Regions from separate parts of the Homo sapiens genome. Here all the other regions are linked to region 3. Evidence: promoter capture Hi-C in human tissues and cell types (Jung and others, 2019). All regions are on one chromosome and are shown on one strand. Each heading gives the region's core, a stretch centred on a gene start or on the middle of the fragment in contact. The rest is flanking DNA. Distances are from core to core; before and after follow the strand shown.

Evidence for each region. Contacts are between HindIII fragments. The study calls those that stand out against the background at their distance.
Region 1: a fragment that was not itself captured here is called in contact with the fragment with the promoter of SNRPE in region 3 in 1 of the 25 tissues and cell types used here (IMR-90 fibroblasts).
Region 2: a fragment that was not itself captured here is called in contact with the fragment with the promoter of SNRPE in region 3 in 1 of the 25 tissues and cell types used here (IMR-90 fibroblasts).

Annotation. Positions count from the first base shown.
Region 1 is chr1:204,323,662-204,327,346 of GRCh38, forward strand. All of the region lies in intron 1 of PLEKHA6 (pleckstrin homology domain containing A6), which reads right to left. Among named protein-coding and RNA genes, the nearest start is that of PLEKHA6, 34 kb to the right of the region's middle. The HindIII fragment of the contact is 5,474 bases long and covers 1-3,685 here.
Region 2 is chr1:204,244,645-204,248,001 of GRCh38, forward strand. It overlaps PLEKHA6 (pleckstrin homology domain containing A6), which reads right to left. Exons shown (of 23, transcript NM_014935.5): 13 at 2,721-2,816; 14 at 971-1,082; 15 at 220-359. Among named protein-coding and RNA genes, the nearest start is that of GOLT1A, 32 kb to the left of the region's middle. The HindIII fragment of the contact is 7,881 bases long and covers 1-3,357 here.
Region 3 is chr1:203,859,567-203,863,061 of GRCh38, forward strand. SNRPE (small nuclear ribonucleoprotein polypeptide E) reads left to right here and starts at 2,033. Exons shown (of 5, transcript NM_003094.4): 1 at 2,033-2,147; 2 at 2,630-2,656. The coding sequence starts at 2,094. RefSeq lists enhancers at 1,815-2,109, 1,918-2,177, 2,563-3,138. The HindIII fragment of the contact is 11,861 bases long and covers 1-3,495 here.

The DNA.
Region 1 (3,685 bases), core at 714-3,213, 460 kb after region 3:
CAGTATGTGTTTGTCAAATGAATAAACAGCTTACTAGAGAGGTAAATGGCAGAGGGTGTAAGCTACCTAGTATTATAATAATAGCTATCTATTGAGTGCATACTTGTGTGAGGCATAATTCTAAATGCAACTCATTTGATCTTCACAACAGCCTTTTGAGATGGTTGTTGTTATGACCTCTGTTTTAAGATGAGGAACCTGAGACAAAATCAGGTTAAATATCCTGCTTGAGGATGGAGTGGCAGGACTTGGAAAGGACCTGGGCAGACTGACTCCAGAGCTGTGCTCTTCAAGTTAGCCCAGTACAGTTCATCCATGAGATCACTCAATTCTAATTACAAGCATACTGAGTGAGTGTTCTGATGAGTGCTGAGTGAGACCTGAAGTCACACTTCTGCCCTGGGCCCCAAGGTTCTGCTTGAGTCTGCATGAGTCACTCCTAGCTATGATGAAGTGCAGTAAAAGTCCAGCCAGTAGGGATGTGTTTCAGCTGCACGAGGACTTCAGGAGCCCTCTTTGGGGTCCACATCCCAGAATCTGACTTTGATTGCTCTGACTTTGATTGCCAGGCATCCCTGGTAAGAGTCAGGGCTATGGATCGTGAAGGGATTTTGAAGATGGAAGGAAATTTTTAGTATCTCAAAGGCTGAAGTAGAGGATAGAATAGGGTTTGTCACTGGGCACAAAGACATGCTGAAAAGATTTATAAATAGGATAAAGAAAGGGGCCTCAATGAATAAGCCCTTTATGGGATAGGATACGAAGGGCAGGGCTGGGCAATAGGAAACTCCAGCTCTGGCTACTTTGCAGCCCCCATTAGAGAGGCAGCTCGTGATGAGACAGAAATGTCTCACCATCAATAAGACAAGGAAAGGAACCAAATGAAGAGAACTTAGAAACAGTTTTCTCTGAGGTTGAGTTTCTCTGACAAAGTCTTATCTGAGAGGGATACAATTCAGAAGAAATGAGTGAAAGTGGAGAGACTATTCCAGAAGTCACAAAAGCTGAAGGCTTTATGTCTAAAGGTGCTGAATTGGAAGTCGATTAGGATCCTGGTGTTTTTATCTGACCTGAGGCCAATAGCTTACTAAACCTTCCATAGATATCAGTTTCTCCATTCATTAAAAGGGTATTGGGTCACCTGTTTGTGTCTTTGTCCTTTGGCTTAGGGACTGTGTTGGATAAAGGAGACTGGAGATCACATGATGCCTGAGTTACTTAGAAGAGAGGAGATGCAGGAATACAGAATTTTATTTATTTATTTATTTATTTTTGAGATGGGGTCTCACTTTGTTGCCCAGGCTGGAGTGCAGTGGCGTGATCTCAGCTCACTGCAAGCTCCACCTCCCAGGTTCACGCCATTCTCCTGCCTCAGCCTCCCAGGAATACAGAATTTGATCAGAGCTTTCAGCAAGGGAGAGGCAGGAGCCACCTCCACACTGTACTTCAGTTACCCCAATTGCATTTAGAGAGATGCAACTATTTTGATTGTCTTAGAGCTCCTGAGAGATAGGAAAGTCTAGTGTCAGGCACCTTGGGTAGGCAACGTTACTTCCCAGTTATCTACAAGTTCAGCTCTCTGGGGTCAGCCCATAGAAAACGAATGCCAGGAAGAAATGTTTCCTGCAATTAAAGCAATAAAGAGAAATGCAAACTGGGTTTAGAGGGCTGCCAGGGGGAGAATCCTTAGGGACATGGTGGTCAACTGTCCCAGTTTGCCCAGGACTTTCAGTGCTCAAACCGGGACAGTCTCAGGCACACTGAGAAAAATTGGTTGTCCTACCAAAGAACTCACGTAAATAAATATCTGGTTTGACAAAGAACCAATGGGCACCACATGAGATCTTCATGCTCAGAAATATTGAGAGCTCAGGTCCCAGGACTAGGAGCCCGAATGCCCAGCTGCCTGCTTGGTGAGCCCTCAGCACACACGTTACTGTGGGCAAGTACCTGCCTCGCTGGGCTTTGGTTCCTCTATAAGATCTGGATGGGTTTTCCTTCCTATCTGGAAGACAAAATCCTATTAGAAACTTCTAAAGGTGCTCAGGACCCTGAGCCCTGAGAAAGTTCCTTATTGGTGGCTTCTTAGAGTAGCCTGTGAACAAACCCAGGAGGCCTTGGCGCAAGACTCTACTCTGCCTGTCCCTAAGGTCACTTAGTCCTGCAGAGATCTCAGGGCCCAGGCGAACAAGGGGTGGAAGGGCAGCATGGGGAGAAGTAGTAGCTGCCATTTCCAGGCTGCCAAAGCCAAGCACCGCTGGGCTGCCATTAACATATAGACTGGGCTGAACACAAAAGGGGCAGAGTCCCTCTGCCCACAGCAAGCCCCATTCCTCACCCTGCCCAGCCGTCTCCCTAATGCATCCAGCACAGGGAGCCATGCTTCCCCTGGCTTGAGACCACTTAATTTTCTCCTAAGCTGCTTTGTGAGGCAGGCTCTGAGCACTCCACGTGTCCAGTCCTGCTGTGGCCAACTTTCTCCATGGCTGAGGGCAGCTCCAGTTCCATGCCCCCTTCTGCCAGCTGAAACAGAGCCCGGCTCCAACAGTGCCCTTCAGTTTGTGAAGACCAGAGGGCACAAGTAGACACTCAGCTCCTCTCTCCCTTAGACCCAACCAGCCAGGAGAGTGAAGCTTCTCCCTCCTGCCTGTGCCAACACACGGTCACGTCTTAGCTCATCAAATGTTCTATCAGTGCCCACTATGTGCAAAGCACTGGCAAAGAAACAGAGACAATCGAGACCCATATTCAGAACCCAAAAAGGGCCATGAGAGCACAGATAGACAGAGGCTTCCCAGCTCTCATTCTAACAAGACTTTGCATGGCTGCCCCAGTCCATGCCACCTCCCAAACCCAAGTGAGCACCACAGAGGCATGGAGACAAAAGAGAAAGAAGAGAACCAAAAGCCTGGTTAATTAATTCACAAAGCAGTGCTCCAGGTGATAGATCATTGAGCCTTACACCCTCTCACAACACATTTCTAGCAAATAATTTTTGCTGTCCAAGCCCTAAATCTGACTGCTAGGGATTAAGCTAGAGAATTAAGAGTCGGAGGATAAATGTAATCAAACCCCTTTCCTTCTCCTTGGTTGGTTGGTTCATTCATTCATTCCATATATATTTTATGAGTGCCTTCTGTGTGCCAGTATGGAGCTCAGCACTAGGACTTGACCTCACTCAGCATTCACTGCCTTTCATCATCCTTAGACTAGCTCCCTCCTTCCTATATGATCCAAATAGGGTGAGGAACTGCTCACTGCCCAAACCCTGGGGCCTCCGCACTTAGGCAGGGAGTGGTCCAGGCAGAAGCGCGCTGGGTACGGCAGCCTCTGTAGTAGGGATTTGTGGACAAAGCAGCTACTTGGGTTTCAGCCTCTCCCCAGTCTCTCTCCATCCCCTCCTCCTCCTCCTGGGATAGAAACCCTGCCACTCTCTGCTCACATGCTTGAGTCACAAGGCTGAACTCCCAGCAAAAGAAGTAGCTCAAGGATGTAACAGGCGCGAGCCCAGTGAAACAGAAATACAGTATTTCATTTTGTTCACTTTGCACCATTCTTCCTCGTTTAATGCCCAAGAAAGCAGTACCAGGGCTTCCTGCTTGTTTGTCCTTCCTACCTCTCCCACCCACCTGGCGCTGAGGCCTCACTCCTGATTTATCCCCAGCTCCATTCCTTTCTGTCTCCC
Region 2 (3,357 bases), core at 36-2,535, 380 kb after region 3:
GAGCTAAAGATGACAGATGGAGATGAGAACAGGTAAAGGGGAAACCTGGAGAGAAGTTCACAAAATGGGGTGTGAGAATGACCTCCTTAAACAAAGAGCTCCAGCACTAGGGCTGGAGGCCTGTGGGGAAGAGATGGGCACAGAAGTTGTATAGTTTCAGACAAACGAGGATCTGGTCCTCCCTCCCCCACCTACCTTCTACTCCATTTCTCAACTTACCTCGTTGGAGCCAGGCTTGGTGGGGGACCCCTGAGAGCCCGACACCAGTGAAAAGGGGCTCAGGGGGCTGGTGAGGCTGGCAGAGCTGAGGGGGCTGGCCGGGCTGTTGGAGCTGTAGGTGGCTGAGGGGCCAAGTCCTCCTTGGGGGAAACAAGGGGATGGGTGAGCAATGGAGGAGGGGTGCGGCCTGGTGGGTAGATGGGCACTGTGAGTGGAGGTGGCAGGGAGAAGCCAGATCCAGGGATGTGGAAGGGCAGATTTAGTGTCTCAGGGCTACCTGGGCCTGCCAAAGGGGCTCATTACAGGTTCTGGGGCCACAGGCTGGCTGTTGAGAGGTGTGCTGGGTGGGGAAGACGGTAGATGGAACTGATACTGTTGTCCCTGAGGTGTCAAGGAAAGCCAGTCTGAGGTCCCAGGGCTCAAGGAAAACTCTAAGGTAGGGGTCACATGTCACAAGTGGGCCCATGTGCTTGGGGGCTGGGGAGGCTTAGGTGCTTTTGACCTTTTCTGGGGAGGACTTTAGAGTGTCAGGGTCAACAGTGTCTCTGAGTTGTTTATTTGGTCTATTCTGTGGGGGGTAAGGGACCCCTACCTACCACCCTAGAACCCAGGGGAAGATTCTGGTGTCCCAAGAAGGCCCTGCCTGGCTCTGAACACAGTGTGAGCTGGCAGGAGTGGGATGGAGGTCAGAAATACTGGAGCACTCCTGGTGAGGCAGGCAGCCTAGGAGGCTGGCACAGGAGGCACCCACCTCTGTGCTTGGCGGTGTCCGTGCCCCGGGAGGGGTTGTTCTTCCTCAGCCCCTCCATCACGTCCTGGATCCTCCAGATCTCCTTTTGGATTTGCCGGTTCAGCACCTCATTCTGAAGCAGCCACACAGTGAGTCAAAGGAAATGGCCATGAGGAGTGTCCAGCCCTTTCTCTCAGCCCAGACCCCTTGGAACCCACATCCCTTTGGGCCAGCAGGAGGCAGGCACCCTGTGTACACACACACACACACACACACACACACACATGCCCCTCCAGCAGTCATCTTTCCCATGGGCTGCCTCTGCTCTTCAGCCTCTAGGAGATGGCACCCCAGAATTGCCCGAGTTTCTGAACCAAGACTGAGGACGCACCCTTCCGAGCTCCCTCAGGGGAAAGATGGGTGGTTTTCGAGTGAATGCCCATCTAAGTGAACACTTTATGGTATCCTGTTTTTCGTGGGGCAAGAGCTTCCATTTTACTGCTTTTCTTCACATCCAAACAGCCCTTTTCTAATACCCACTCCCAGCGTACGCCTGAAGAGTCATGAATTCAATTACAGTTGACAGTCTAAAAGGTAAGACCTCCCATTTATTTAGCATCCCTCAGCACCAGGCACTATGCTAAGCAATTTGCATATACAGTGCTAACTCATTTCGGCTGCATGACTCTAGGAGATAAGGGCAGCAGCTATCCCCTCTTCAGAGATGAAGAGACTTACACCCAAGGCCATCTATTTAGTAAGCAGCATGACCATCATCTCAATATGGGTCTATTTGGACCCGAAGTTAGCGCCCTTGACCACAACCCTATCCCCCCTACTAAAATGTCTGTGTTTCAAGTGAGGCTTGGCCACGGGACATGGTGGTATTTGGGTCTTCTGGACCAGGTGGGTCTTCACCCTACCTAACCAGCTGCAAGGTAGGGGTGGTGAGTAGCATTACCAGGAGGGAAACAGAAGAAAATGGGGGAAACCAGGGTGTTAACTGCATCAGAGAGACAGGGCTTGCAAACTAGCTAGAGAAGAGGCAGGGCCTGGGTGAAGAAAAGGCAGAGGGAAGAAAAGAACAAGAACTCCCCAAGATCATCATGTCAATCCTCCTGCCTCCAGGCAGACTGTTTCTAACCCACCCCAGGAAGAAAAGCCTCTCTCCTATCTAAAAATTCCTGAGCAGATTGCTCCCGCAGCGCCTACTCTTCTAATGCCTGAGTTATTTATATTTACACGTCTGTTTTTAAATCCTGCTGGGCACAGTGGCTCATGCCTGTAATCCCAGCAGTTTGGGAGTCTGAGGCAGGAGGATCACTTGAGCTCAGGAGTTAGAGACCAGCCCGGCCAACACAGGGAGACCCTGACTCTACAAAAAATACAAAAACTAGCCAAGCATGGTGGTTCATGACTGTGGTCCCAGCTACTCAGGAGGCTGAGGTGGGAGGATTGCTTGAGCCCGGGGCAGTCAAGGCTGCAGTGAGCTGTGACTGCGCCACTGCACTCCAACCTGGGCAACAGAGCAAGACCCCATCCCAAGAGGAAAAAAAATCCTTTCAGTCATAAAACACCTGTGTCTAACTGAAGTCTCCCAAGCTTCAGCTTTAACTCCTTCCCCTGTGAGATGAACCTAAAGCGTCCCATTATCTTCATCCTGAAACTTAGAGTCTGTTATCAATGGCCGGAACCTTTGCTTTTGTCTCGAGGCCAACTCCTCATCTTTAGTCACATCCCAATCCCCGCCAGCTCAGGGGCCCTTCTTCACCTGGGTGTCCAAATTGAGCTGCTCCCAGAGGTCATCGTGCAGGGCAGAGACCTCAGACTCGAGGTGCTCATACTCTATGGTGCTGTTTGTCAGGGCCTACGGGGGAAAGAGGCGTTCACTGAGAAAGCCGCCATCACCAAGGCATTCCTCCTTATCCTGCAATGGACCCTGGGGCCAGGGTACCAGAGGCACAAAGATCTGGGGAAGAGGGCATGGAGGGACCGAAGGAGAGGGGCACCAGGCTGAGACATTCTGGTGACAGCCAAACACTAGCCTTACAAGAGATGTAACAGCCCATCCCACCACCAACTGAAATAAAGAGAAAATGGAGAGGGATGATATCACTTCCATACCCTCCTATTCTCCCCAGATCAGCGGATAAAAAGTAGAGGGCATAGCCTGGGGAAAATGACAAGACCCCATCTCTACAAATTACAAAAGTTAGCTGGGCATGGTGGCGCACCCCTGTAGTCCTGGCGACTTGGGGGCTGAGGCAGGAGATCACTTGAGCCCTGGAGGTCAAGATTGCAGTGAGCTGTGTTTGTGCTACTGCACTCCAGCCTGGGTGACACAGTGAGACCCTGTTCTTAAAAAAAAAAAAATTTAAGTGGAGGTCAAAGAGAAAAGAGCCTGAAGG
Region 3 (3,495 bases), core at 783-3,282:
ATTTTTTTTTTTTTTTCTTTGAGACAGAGTCTTGCTCTGTCACCCAGGCTGGAGTGCAGTGGCGCGATCTCGGCTCACTGCAACCTCTGCCTCCCAGATTCAAGCAATTCTCCTGCCTCAGCCTCCTGAGTAGATGGGACTACAGGCGCCTACCACTACGCCCAGCTAATTTTTGTATTTTTAATAGAGACGGGGTTTCACCATATTGGCCAGGCTGGTCTCAAACTCCTGACCTTGTGATCTGCCTGCCTCAGCCTCCCAAAGTGCTGGGATTTACAGGCATGAGCCACTGTGCCCAGCCCTGGCTGAAATTTTTTAAAGGAAATAGTTATCCCATGCATTTGCCAGCTTTGTGTAGTTTATTTATTTATTTATTCTTATTTATTTTTTTGAGACGGAGTCTCGCTCCGTCACCAAGGCTGGAGTGCAGTGGCATGATCTCGGCTCACTGCAACCTCTGCCTCCTGGGTTCAAGTGATTCTCCTGTCTCAGTCTCCCAAGTAGCTGGGATTACAGGCATGTGCTACCATGCATGGCTAATTTTTGTATTTTTAGTAGAGACAAGGTTTCACCATGTTGCCCAGGCTGGTCTCGAACTCCTGACCTCAGTTGATCCACCTGCCTCGGCCTCCCAAAATGCTGGGATTACAGGCGTGAGCCTGGCCGCTTTGTGTAGTTTAAAAATCACTTTCAACTCAACCCCTTTCTGAAGTCGTTATTACTATTATCCCCATTAAACAGAAGCCCTCAGAAAAGCTAATTTTGATTCTGCCATTTGCCCTAATCCGTGTTCCCTTAGGCAAGTCCTTTCAAAAGTCTAAACTTCAGTTTCCTCCTCTATAACATGTGTATGCCAATTAAGTGAAATCTCTGCCAGGCCACAAGCCATGACACAATGGAAAGGTAGGTGGACTTTGGGGTCAGGCACACCTACAAATTCCAGCTGCTCCACTTAGTAGCTGTGTTATCCAGGGAAGGACATGTTCTGACACTGGCTGACGCCTAACTGTGTGCACACATAGACAATTATTTCATTGAATCTTTAAGCCCCTGAGTAAAGTTAATCTTTACTATAATCTCCGTTTTGGAAACTAAGCCAAGACATGGCGAGGCTGAGTAATTTATCCTTGGTCACCAACTCTAAAAGAGCTGGATTTGCGCCCAGCATGTGGATTTCAGCGTCTTCCTGGTAAATCGCCACCCTCAGTTGCCACCTGAACAGTAACTCTCCACGAAATGGATGAGAATTGAATCCGTAACTGGAGGGAACCAGGCGTCTGGCTTTGGAATGCAGACCGCCTCTGGCCGACTGCCAGAGGTGGGAGGCCTGAAGTTTGGGCTCCTTGCCGCCCTACCCTTTCCACCACAACGCTGCTATCAAGCCTAAACTCCAGCAAAATAGGCTTTAGGAAAGGCACGAAATTAACTCATTTTACACATAGAGATACACACTGGGACGATTTTGGCTTTTCAAGCTAACTCAGAAAATGGAGATACAGGCCGGGCGCGGTGGCTTACGCCTGTAATCCCAGCACTTTGGGAGGCCGAGGCGGGCGGATCATGAGGTCAGGAGATCGAGACCATCCTGGCCAACATGGTGAAACCCCGTCTCTACTAAAAACACAAAAAATTAGTCGGACGTGGTGGCAGGCGCCTGTAGTCCCAGCTACTCGGGAGGCTGAGGCAGGAGAATCGCTTGAACCCTGGAGGCTGAGGTTGCAGTGAGCTGAAATCGCGCCACTGCACTCCAGCCTGGGCGACAGAGCGAGACTTCGCCTCAAAAAAAAAAAAAGAAAAGAAATTGGAGACAGGACGGCACTCCTCCTACCACGGCCACTATACAACCGAAGGCACCTCCTCCCGCCTCCCTCCAGGTGGCGCTGTAGGACCGGCCCACCTTCCACAGCGCAGACGCCTCAGTTTGGCCTCCCTCGGAGGCCATGCAGCGAAGAAACGTGACTTCATGGCTAGAGGGGCATTTCCCAGGAGCCGCCCATGCCGCCGCGTGACCTTCACACTTCCGCTTCCGGTTCTTTATTCCGGAAGTTGCTCTCAGAGGCAGCGTGCGGGTGTGCTCTTTGTGAAATTCCACCATGGCGTACCGTGGCCAGGGTCAGAAAGTGCAGAAGGTTATGGTGCAGCCCATCGTATCCTACGCAGGATGTCAGGACTAGGAGGTTCGGGTCAGAATACGGGGTGCGAAGGCGCAGGCTGAGGGCAGGCCTGGGATAGTGGAGTACGGATCCACATCCCATGAGCCCCCGGGGCTACCAAGACTGGAAGAAAGCGCGGGTAGTTGAACCGTGATGGTGGGGAGGTGGTCTTGGGGGGACCCCTGCCGTGGGGAATGCAGGAATGGACGCGGCAAAAGGAGGGAAGAGAACTTCAGGTGCGGAGTGAAAACGGGAGTTAACGGTTTTGGGAAACTCCAGGGGGATGAAAGTGGAATGGATGTTCTTTAGTCTTTAGAAGACCCGTAACGAATGCCCAGCTGGGCACTTGTTGTTTGCGTAAGCACCAGACCTCGCGTTTAGTAAACAAAGGTGAGACGGGAATAGCGTCGTCCGGTTGTTTCAGGAAGCAGAGTCTATGCTGCTTTTGTATTTTTTCCTTAGCCACTGTGGTGCAGAACCTCATCTTCAGATACTTACAAAATGTACGTAAGTTGCTTGTTTCGTAACTACTTTTTAAATAAGAGGTGAACTGATTTAGTTTTTTGTGTTAACCTGAGCGATCGCTGTGTTCTAGAATTTAAAAATAGATGTAACTGGAGATTGGAGGGTAATTGAGGGGAAGGAGTACTTAGAAAGCACTAATGTGATGAAGTGGTGTGTATCCATGCCACTTCCCAACATGCAAAGAATTGTATCCATTACTTTGCAAGATCAAAAATACTTTTTAATTCCAAAAAGTATTATTAGCAGACTTGACCATGGTATTTGGGCATCAGTAGTTTTGTTAGTAGTGATTATGGCTAGAACATTGGAACCTCTCCCCTTTAGGATGAAACATTGGAAGAAAAACCCAGCCAACTTAAACCATGTCAAGAGGTGGTGTGTTTAATACCTGTGGGAAAACTTAAAGACGAAAAAAGGAAGAGAGAAGGGGTAGCTTCAGAGGAGTTTAGTGGCAGCTGCTTTCCTTTGAGGGAAATTTTAGCAACTTAAATTTTATAGTGTGATAACACAACTGAAAAACATTAATTTCAGGTGATAATAATTCTTAACCACCTGAATTGAGGGCTCCTGTCCTAGTTGTTAGGTGTGTGACATGAGAAGGCTTTGTTTTGGAACTGGATTTTGCTGCAGGAGATAAGCCCTTGGTCATTAGAAATTACTGCTTTGTGCTATGCTGTCAAAAACTTTCACTCTTAATAGATTGAGACCAGAAGCAGTAAGAAATATTGAGTCCCAAAATCACAGGAAAATTATTAGCTTATACAGTTCCAATATAGAACTTATTAAATGAAAATTCTTTTTGAGGTTATTATTATTG